Linked DNA regions of Homo sapiens: region 2 is linked to region 1. The links are contacts of gene promoters, found by promoter capture Hi-C in human tissues and cell types (Jung and others, 2019). All regions are on one chromosome and are shown on one strand. The core of a region is centred on a gene start or on the middle of the fragment in contact, and the rest is flanking DNA. Distances in the headings are between cores, read along the strand shown. Region 1 holds the start of GALNT5 (polypeptide N-acetylgalactosaminyltransferase 5). Region 2 overlaps PKP4 (plakophilin 4).

The links. Contacts are between HindIII fragments. The study calls those that stand out against the background at their distance.
Region 2: a contact is called between a fragment that was not itself captured here and the fragment with the promoter of GALNT5 in region 1, in 1 of the 25 tissues and cell types used here (IMR-90 fibroblasts).

What each region holds. Positions count from the first base shown.
Region 1 is chr2:157,255,450-157,260,409 of GRCh38, reverse strand. GALNT5 (polypeptide N-acetylgalactosaminyltransferase 5) reads right to left here and starts at 2,705. Exons shown (of 10, transcript NM_014568.3): 1 at 874-2,705. The coding sequence starts at 2,327. The HindIII fragment of the contact is 4,009 bases long and covers 1,006-4,960 here.
Region 2 is chr2:158,650,468-158,655,427 of GRCh38, reverse strand. The region is part of intron 11 of PKP4 (plakophilin 4); the gene reads right to left. Among named protein-coding and RNA genes, the nearest start is that of PKP4-AS1, 82 kb to the left of the region's middle. The HindIII fragment of the contact is 5,340 bases long and covers 370-4,960 here.

The sequences.
Region 1 (4,960 bases), core at 1,456-3,955:
AATTTAACTTTTTGAAGGACTGGTTACTGAAGGCCCATTGGGCAGCTTTAGAACTGCATTACCTTGAGAAAGTGTTGTAACTTCTGAGCGCCCTCGCCAGCTTGTTAATTTGAACCATAATGACTGCCTCCTCCTTTGCAGGGCTCATATGGAGTTCATCTATGTGTATGCAGGCTCTTTGTAAATAGTGAATGTCTACAAATATAAGTGATTATTATTATGCTTTTTATACCTCCTGTAGGTGTTTGCTGGTCATGGACTGATTGACTTTTTCCAACATTATGATTCCTATGTAACTGATCTCCTGAAATATCTACCATCTCCACCTATAAAGGAGATTAAATTTTAGGGAGTAAAGTCACTTCTCTTGCTATCCTGCTTATCATTACTTATGATTAGGCAGAATTCTGCTGGTTAAGATATGATTCCAGGGAGGCCTAGAAGAGTCCTTCTGTGTGCTTCTTTCCCAAATATATTCCTGACAAACTTGCTAATAATGAAAAGTTCCAAAATTGGGAATTCACTTCATTGTCACTATTCTAATGGAATTACACTTTAAGCTCTACCATTTATATACACGTTATTATGAACTGAGTTCATCTAATCATTTTAATAGGTTTTCAACAGAGGGAAGAAAATTGAACATGAGCTAATGGTAGGGACCAAAGTCTCAGAGAACAAGAACTCTGCAACTGCTAATAAGAGAATTTTTGTCTCTGTAGCTGGTGAAATATTTGAATGATATCCAATGATTAATGTTTCTTTAATTCTCTAGGTGACCAAAAATCACACAGAATTATCTAGCAATAAATCCTCTTTACATAACAGCCAAAGCACTTGGGGTTGAGGAAAGAGAAGAGAAATAGGTCTTACCCAGCAGGTCTGGTGTCTTCAATGGCTCTATCCACTGGGATCAAATCGCTAAGGTAGACATTGAAGTTTCCTTCTTTCCATCTTCTTTCTGCCTCCTTCTCCTTTCCATGGGGGACAACTACAGGACGCCCAAACTGCCCTGGAGCTTTGGGGTCCCTTGGAGAAAGTGTCACATCAATTCTTAACACCTGGTGCGTTCCACTGTCTTCAGGTAAAAGGGCTTTTATATGACTCTGGTTGTATTCTGTAGAGGGGGCTTTGGCAGTTATGTTGATTTTTGCTGGCTCTAGCCCTCCAGTTAAAGCATGGTTAGTTTGGGACAGTGGCACTCTATGTGGAGCAAGTGAAGAGGAAGACATCTCACTTCTATTCCTGGAAATGTGTTTACTTTGGCTTTTACCCAATACTTTAGGAAATATTGTTTTGGTTTTAGAATTAGAGACCTCTTTGGGGTCTGCCTTTTGCTCTTCCTCTTTGGTTATAATCACAAGATGGCTTTCAGAGAAATTGAGTTTCTTCCCATGAGCCCCTCTAGCTCCATCATCCTTTGACAAACTTCCCAAAGGTGTCTCATTAATAGATTGCTTCCTTAAGCGATTTGAATTGACAGTGAACTTAGGAAAAGGAAGACTCGTATTGGCTTTGTGTTTATTTGCATTGACTTCTTTGCTCTGAGTCTTAGTTTTGTTTAAGGCCATGGCTTCCCCAGACTTCGGCACTGCTGTGCTGGCAGGGTGTGCCCTCTCGTTTGCTACTGCCTGTGATCGCTGCTTTGGTCTATCAGTACTAAGACTGATGGTCACATTCAAGTCCCTTTCAGCTGCTAGTTTTGATGTGTCACTGCTGGGACTATGACTCTTCCGGGGCTCCTGTTTTAAACTGACACGTCCCATGTGTACTGATATTTTGACTACCTGAGTTCCTTTTGCTGCTATGAATGAGGTCTTTGGAGCCCCCTGAGCTGTCGTTTGCTTTGGTGTCCCCTGGTGAGAGGAGGCTTCAGGTTTGGTGCCTCTCCCGTCTGTCTTCTGCTTGTTAGGAGTCACAGGGAGGGTCTGCAGATGTGCAGGATGCCACAACGGCACAACCTTGCCCCTTCCCAGGGCATTCTGCATTTTTCTTTCCCTCTGGGTTTGGTCCAAGTCCACCTCAACCTTGAGCACACTCTCCTCAGTTTTTCTAACATTCTCTTTGCCCCATGCCCCTTTCCCATGTCCCCTTAGGGGAGGTTTCATCTCTTTTATGCTGCTGTAAAAAATTTTTCCTTGGTCTGGCTGAACTCTGAATCCTATCCGCTCCCTCCTCACAATGTCTTCCTTGATGACCCGAGTGTTGATCTCACTGAATGAGAGGCGGAGAGCTGCCATGTCAAAGAGGAGCCAGATGACAGAAGCTACAAAGATAAATGCCAAGACTCGCCCACTTCCTCGGAAAAACTTTCGGATCCTGTTCATGGTACAAAGCTTTCCCTAGCAGCCTGCCCTCCCTTAGCCTGCTTACCTTGAGTGGAGAGGAAGCTGAAGTAGCAGCAGCAGCAGCAGCAGCAGCAGAGTTGCCAGAAAGTGACCCCCTCCCCTGAACACAGCAGGAAGCAGCAGTCCAAGGGGAAAGCTCAGTTCCTACCGCTTGTCAGTCTCTGCCTGCGTGGCATTTCATAGCAGAGCATCTGTGCCTGCTTGGCTGGCCCTGGCTAAGTTCTGATAAACACTGGCCTTAGGTCACTCCAGGAGCAGTTGATTCCAGCCACCGAACAGTTCAACATATCACTTGTCTTGTCTCCGGGAGCCCATGTCCACCTTCCTACAAGCCCAAGAAAAGGTGGGGGCCAGATTGAGACTGCCGTTTCTCTCCTCCCCGTTCTCCGTCTGCACGCTGTAACTCAACACCACTTCTCATAAGGAAAACATTTCATGCCATTACCCAGAAAACTTCATTCAGCTCTCACCTTCTGTGTTATGTGAGAGCATGTGTGTTTAAACGGCAATTAAAGAGGAAAAAAAGCTATCTAACTTGGAGGGCATGTGTTCCTGGTTTGTGACCCCACCTACCCTACTCCTGCTCATTAACCCTGTTGTAGCCAGGTGCCAATGCTCTGCCTGAGGAATTTATCACTGAAGTTAACATTTCAGCTTTAAGACATAACAGCTTAAAGAAGGGGCCTGGTATATCCTCACTTCCAGAGATGTATATGTTTAATTATTTAGATCATTCATTCAAGGGGTTTCAATGTATTTCTTTGTAAGCCAACTATTTTTTTTTCACTAATCCATCTGTTTTTATTATTACATTTGATTACAAATAAACTTAATTTGTCATACTGCTATAAAAGTTTCTAAACACTTTGTTATGGTCTGAATGTTTATGTCCACCCAAAATTCATATGTTGAAACCTAATCATAAATGTGATAGTATTAGGAGGTAGGGCTTTTGAAGGTGATTTCATTATAAGGATAGAGCCCTCATGAATGGGATCAGCACCCTTAAAAAAGAGGCCCTATTGCCTTGCCATTCCACAAAGTGAAGACATAATGAGAAGGTGCCATCTATGAACCAGGAAATGGGCCTTCACCAGTCAACGAATCTGCTGGTGCCTTGATTTCTGACTTCTCAGTCTCTAGAACTGTGAGAAATAAGTTTCTGTTGTTTATGAGTCACTTAGTCTATGTTATTCTTCTATAGTAGCCTGAACAGATTAAGATACACTTACTCTCAGTTTCAGTACTTATCTCGTCTTAAACCAGCAAGCAACAGTTTCAGGACCACACCAGGACTTGGACCAGATTTTGAGTGATGCTGGTTGACTGGTAGGGTAGCAGTTCCGCCACAGGCTTTTCATTAGAACCACTTGAAACAAGATCCCCAAAACTCTGGTCAATTGATGAGAGAGGAGGTGGAGATGACATTTGGGCTGATATTGTATTAAATATATATATATATATATATATATATATATATATATATATATATTTTTTTTTTTTTTTTTTTTTTTACAAAGCTTCCCAGGTCTTTCAAATGTGCAGCTAAAGTTGAGAAACACTGGTCTAGAAAAAAAGTCTCAATTTTTTGTTTGTTTGTTTTTGGTTTTTGAACATTGCCTATGAGACATTTAATTTTAGGTGTCTACTTGACTGGGCTAAGGAACACCCAGAGAACCAGTAAAGCATTATTTTTAGGTATATCTGTGAGGGTGTTTCCAGAAGAGATTGGCATTTGACTCAGTGCACTGAGTGGGGAGGAGATGCCCTCACCCAATGTGGGCAGGCACCACTAATTGGTTGAGGGCCCAGATAGAAAAAAAGGCAGAGGAAAGGTGGATTCTGTCTCTGTTAGTGAGCTGGGACATCTTTCTTCTTCTGCCTTTGGACTAGAACTTTAGATTCTCTGGCTTTGGCCTCTGGGGCTTGTACCAGTCTGCCCCCACAACCTCCACATCCCTCACTAGGTTCTCAGGCTTTTGACCTCAGACTGAGAGTGATGTTATTGGCTTCCCTGGTTCTCAGGCCTTTGGACTCAGAATGTGCCATGTTACTGGCTTTCCTGGTTCTCCAGCTTGCAGGTGGCCTGGACTGAGGTTTCTCAGTCTCCATAACCACATGAGCCAATTCCTGTAATAAACTGCAACTCACTTATCTACCTCTATGAATCCTATTGGTTCTGTTTCTCTGAAAAATCCTGGCCAATACAGTCTACAACTTGTGTGACATTCCTTCCCTGTCTAAAGTACAGTCTAATAAAATCTATGCATTCCCATAACAACTAAATCAGAATACACATTTTGACATTGCCAGTTGTAAAGATTGTCCATAGAGTTTGAGAAGCACTTCTCGGGACCACTGTCCTTCTCTCTGAGGAACTCTGAGTGATTTGTGGACAACACTGCTGTTCATTACTCTAGTGTGGGGAGGGTCTAGCTTCCATGCTTTGAGGTAAACTTATGTTCCCAATGACTTGGGAGGGGAAGGAGAGATTCCAAATTCATATATATATCTCAAGCACTTTGCTAAGTTCTTTCCATTGACTATCTCACTCAATCCTCACAAGAATCTAATGTGAAGGAGTAAATTACAATATGTATTTTGTAGTCAGC
Region 2 (4,960 bases), core at 1,790-4,289, 1.4 Mb before region 1:
AGAAAAACCTGTTTTTTTTTGTTGTTTCTGTCTCTACTCCCAGCTACTTCTAACACCTACTTCTGGCAAGAGAATATTTCTCTGATTTGAGAATTTCCCTGATTTTCATGCTGGTGGTAGAATTTTGTCCTGCTCTGTCTTTTTCTTCCCAGGCATTCAGAATGACTGATGGAGTTGTATGTCATTCTACAGCTTAGTATTAGCCAGTATATATACTTGGGATTGGACATAGCATAAACATTCATAAATCAATGTAAACAATGGTAGCATCACCATTTACTGTGGCTTTACTCTGTGCCAGGCATTGTGTGCTTTACATATAATACCTTAAAAAGCCAAGTTGTACAAAATTAATTAACTTTCCCTTTTAAATATTTTTATAGGTTTGAAATTCTACATGTTGATTTTTTTTTAAAAAAAGATGAACATTTATATGCTGAAATTAAATTTTAATTTCATTAGGCAAGTATTATATAATGAGGAAGAAATACCCTATCATTATCCATCCTTTTATATATATGTTGTGTGACACATATGCAGGACACATAGTAGGTGGTCAAAAATATTTGTGATGGATCTATTTTTATATCCTGTATTTGTTTTTAGATTTCTCTTTTATTTCCTACCTATCAGACTTGGCTTATAAGTATTATTATTATTACCTCCCCTTTGTGCCTTTTTGTAAAACTGAGTATTCAGGAGTGTCCTTTAAGTTTGCAACTGGGGGAGAGGATCTCTAACAAAATTTGTCAGCATAGTTTTGCCTGCCTTTCACATTGAGACCAAAACAGATGGTTGCTGAAACCACCATCTTAGTTACGGGGATAGGAGAATCCAGTTGCCATTCTATCTCCCAGAATCGGAAAAGTCACACCAACATGCCAGAATCCCCATCCCTCAAAGTGCAAAATAGAAAGGAACAGTGCTGCCAAATTATAAAATATAAAGTTGTTAAAAAATATGTTACCCTTCAGTAGACAAGTTGACTATGCTATCTTTTAGTCAACTAAAATGACTTATTGATCATAACACTAGCCTACTATAGAAATTCAGGCTTTCATTTCTGCAACTTCCAAAAAAAAATGTTTACAGTTATTCTTGATCAGAAAAAAGGAAAGGTTCTATTTTTGCTAAGTATGTGGTGTTCAAGGGACCCACCAAAAGGCAGCTTTATCACCCTGCATTGTGTGTTATATTATCCTCTAATCCTGCACTTCACCATGTAACACAAAGAGTTGCAACCTTCGGTATGGATTTAACTCACCATTTTGACTGGTTTTTCTTCCTCACTTTCTATTCCAAAACTAAGGTTATATAAAGCCAAAACAACCAGCTCTAGTCAATAAATAATGGATGAAAAAGATTTAATTAAACTTAAAAGCCTTAGATATGAAATGATTAATTTGGCTTTTTTGCTCAAAGTAAAAAGCACCTCTCTTAAGACCGGCTAATAACACCTGTGTGTGCTCGACCTCACTAAAACAATGTTCTCTCCACTTTGTCTAGGGCTTCATTTAATGGGTCAGGAAGAATCTTGCTAGGGCAGTAAGTAATGAATAGAGAATACACCAACTCCCAGATGTAGTAAGACTGATGAGAAAATGAAGAGCTGTAGGATTAGCCTTCTCCATCAACATGATAACCTCTAACTCCAACATCCTAATGCAAAATTTGCTTCAAAAATATTTATCACCATACTCCATTATCTCCTGGTTCTCAAAGGGAAAGTTAAAAATAAACTAGAATTTGGTTGAGGAAGCTTGAGGTTTTATTTAATTTAAAGCAATTAGCTATTTGTTGTGAGGACTAAGAATATAAACATACAAACTAATTTAGAAAATATTAGGGAGTCTCATGCATATTATTGTAGAAAACGCTGCTTATTCCCTGTCACAGGAACAAGTACATATAATTATGAGTAACCAATAATCACAATGAAATACTGCCATGAGAAATGAAAGTTCATTTTCCTCACAAAGAATGAATAAAGTAATTAAAATACCATTTCACATAAATCCTATGCTGCACAATTTTGAAAGAGCTCACATTTAAAACTAACTTTATAGCTATTCTAATGGCGAACTGATAATTTTATAGTCAAATTAGAAGCTGATTTTACTGATTAATTAAAATAATAGCAACTATTTGAAAAATGTACTTCTTAAAGGATATTAAAAAAAACAAAACATTTGGAAAATGCGATTTCTCTGGTGGCAGATATGCATGGCAGCCTATACAACTGTTTTTCTTTTTGATATGAAAGACAATCTTAAACCACTCATTTTTAGACAGCATTCAATTTATGCCATGTTTCCTAATTATATTAAAAAGAGCCCAAGTGTTTGTAGACATTGCCAAAAGCAAAAAAGCAACAGCCATAAAGGTGCCAGTGTGCTTCAAACATCATCACTGGACAGGCCCCTGCATTTTCCTTCTTGAGTGAACCTCGCTCTGAGTGCTCTGGTTTTAGTCGTGCTCTTTCACAAGACGTTCATGATGGAGGCAGGTAAAACTACCCAGGCTCAGGGTGTGAGGAACCATCAAGGAGATAATGGATGCTAAGGTCTTGTGCACACTCAACCCCCACTCCATTCCCAGTACAAAGCAAGTGTCATGACCAGTGGCTAACAGGACTGTGCATTCCCGTTGAAGCTCTGGGGAACACTGCTCCTTATGTAATCCTCCCCACCTCCTGCCCCAGCTCCTGGCTATTCTGCATCTATGGGCTCACTGGAACCACCCTGCAAACATTCTTGAAAAATGGGGGTAGAAATATTAGATTAATAGCACAAACATAATAATATCAGGGCTGCAGATTGTATCACGGCCCTTGCCTGCTTCTCCTAGCACATGCCTCCATTATCATTCCCTATACAGTCTCTGGCTGAAACACTCAGGATCTAGCAAACACACATCTTCATTTCTTTCTCTATGCAGCTGCCCTTGAAGTTCTCCCCTTAGCCCAATGGGTTTTTATAAACTTCTGCGGCTTTTTCTTGGGACGAGAGTAATGCCAAGATGCTATGGCACCTACATCCTGCTACAATATGGCCTCCCGCCAGCCTTAAAGTTACACACCTCATACCTTTGACATTTACGTTACCTCTACCCAAATGCAGTATAGACCTGTGCTGCCCCATACGGTGGCCATCAGCCACATGTGGCTACTTGAAATATGGCTAGTCCAAACTGAGATGCACTGTTGAGTAAAAAACAGATTATGAAGACTTGGTACGAAGAAGTGAACACAAAATATTAATAATTTTTATATTTCTTAGAAGTTGAAATACTTTGAAACTATTAGGCCAAATAAAATACATTACTAAAATAGATTTCCCATGGCTGCTAGAAAATGTAGAAAATATGCAGCTCATATTATTCTCCTATTGAACAGCGCTGGCAGAGATGCTTGCTTGCTTCATGCCAGACTCCGAGGGAGACACACAGGGGAGCCATCTGTTCTCAGGGGGGCCTTACCACAAACAGTTACACCACCAGGCAGTTGTGACAAAGGGCAGGAAGAGCAACAGGTATGGCTTGAATATCCTGTGTGCCAGGAGCTCAACACACATCATCACAAAAACACCAAGCAGCAGGTAATGTGTCATTGCCGGGGACACTGGGGTTTGACAGTGGTGATGTGTCTGGAGCCACAGAGCTGGAAGGAAACAAGTCAACCTGGCTCCAAAGCTCACACTCACTCGAGACCATGCCGCTTCTCCTTGGATGTTTTTCAAAGTGTGTGAACTTGTGTTTGACAGGAGGATGGGAGACCACATTTGAGTTGCAGTGTCAAGGACAGAGGCCAGAAAGAAGCAGGTTTGGGGTGCAGAGCTCTTCAGGCCAACTATATATAGCCTGGGAAAGAAGCAGAAGAGGTGACGGCACATGCTGGAGCTGGCTGGCAGGAGGTCACAGAAGCTACTGATTTGGACAGGCAGGTGGGAAAACCTGAACTGCAGGCACAGGTGTTATCCCAGGGAGGGGGTGAGGCCAATGGGCTAGGAGGGGCAGAGCCTATTTCACAGGACAGGATGGAGGAGGGAGGAGGCCAAAAGGGAAGGGAAGTGCCTGTAGTGAGAATTTGGAGCCAGATGCAAACTGAGGGTGGTGTCACAGGTAAGCCAGGAGTTTGAATACGTGTGAAAATATGGCACTGTTAACAGAAATGAGGAAGTCAAGGGGGTGGTGGGGAGAATCAGTGCCATAAAACTGTCTGCTGGGCTAATCAATTGCCCAAGCTTTCTAACAGGGCTGAAGGCTGTCAACAAATTACGAAATCTAAGTGAAACTGAAATAGTGGGAAAACAATTACGAGACAGGGATAAAACTACTATCCTCAGTTATAGAAAAATACCTTTCTCTGGATAAATGCTGAGGAAAACAAGTTGTGGTGGTATATAGCCATTCCCAGAGTTTCTAAGATGCCACTATCTGAGCAGAGTTCCTGAAACCTGTGCAGTGACCCCTCCATGCAGTGAGGCTCCTGGTCTATAGGTGTGGCTTGAGGCTTTCTCCTTCCTGCCCCAAAGCATGAGAGGCCAGTTGCTGCACTCCCTGCTGCCTGGCACAGAGCACTGCAGGTGGTGGACAGGCCTGCCTTGCTCACCCCTGTGTTCTCTGGGATTTCCTGCACAGCAGATGCATAATCCTCATGGGGCACGGGGGAGCTCACTCAGGTCCAGCTGTGCTCGGAACACCACCATCTCAGCTTTCAGCGCAGTGGGAAGTGGGTGCTCAGGTGGTCTGAGGGCAAGATGCTTCCTAGGAGGGAGCTGTGTGGAAGTAAGGAACTGGGCTGGTCACAGAGGCTGCACACAGGGGCCCCAGCCTGCATATTCCAGTTGAAGGTGACCATTCCTGCTGCTGAAATTTGTCCCCAGTTGGGACAAGATAGATCTTTAGTGCCTTTAGAGAATATAAGGGTTAGCCCGAGTCTCTGCGATTTTGCAGGCATAAA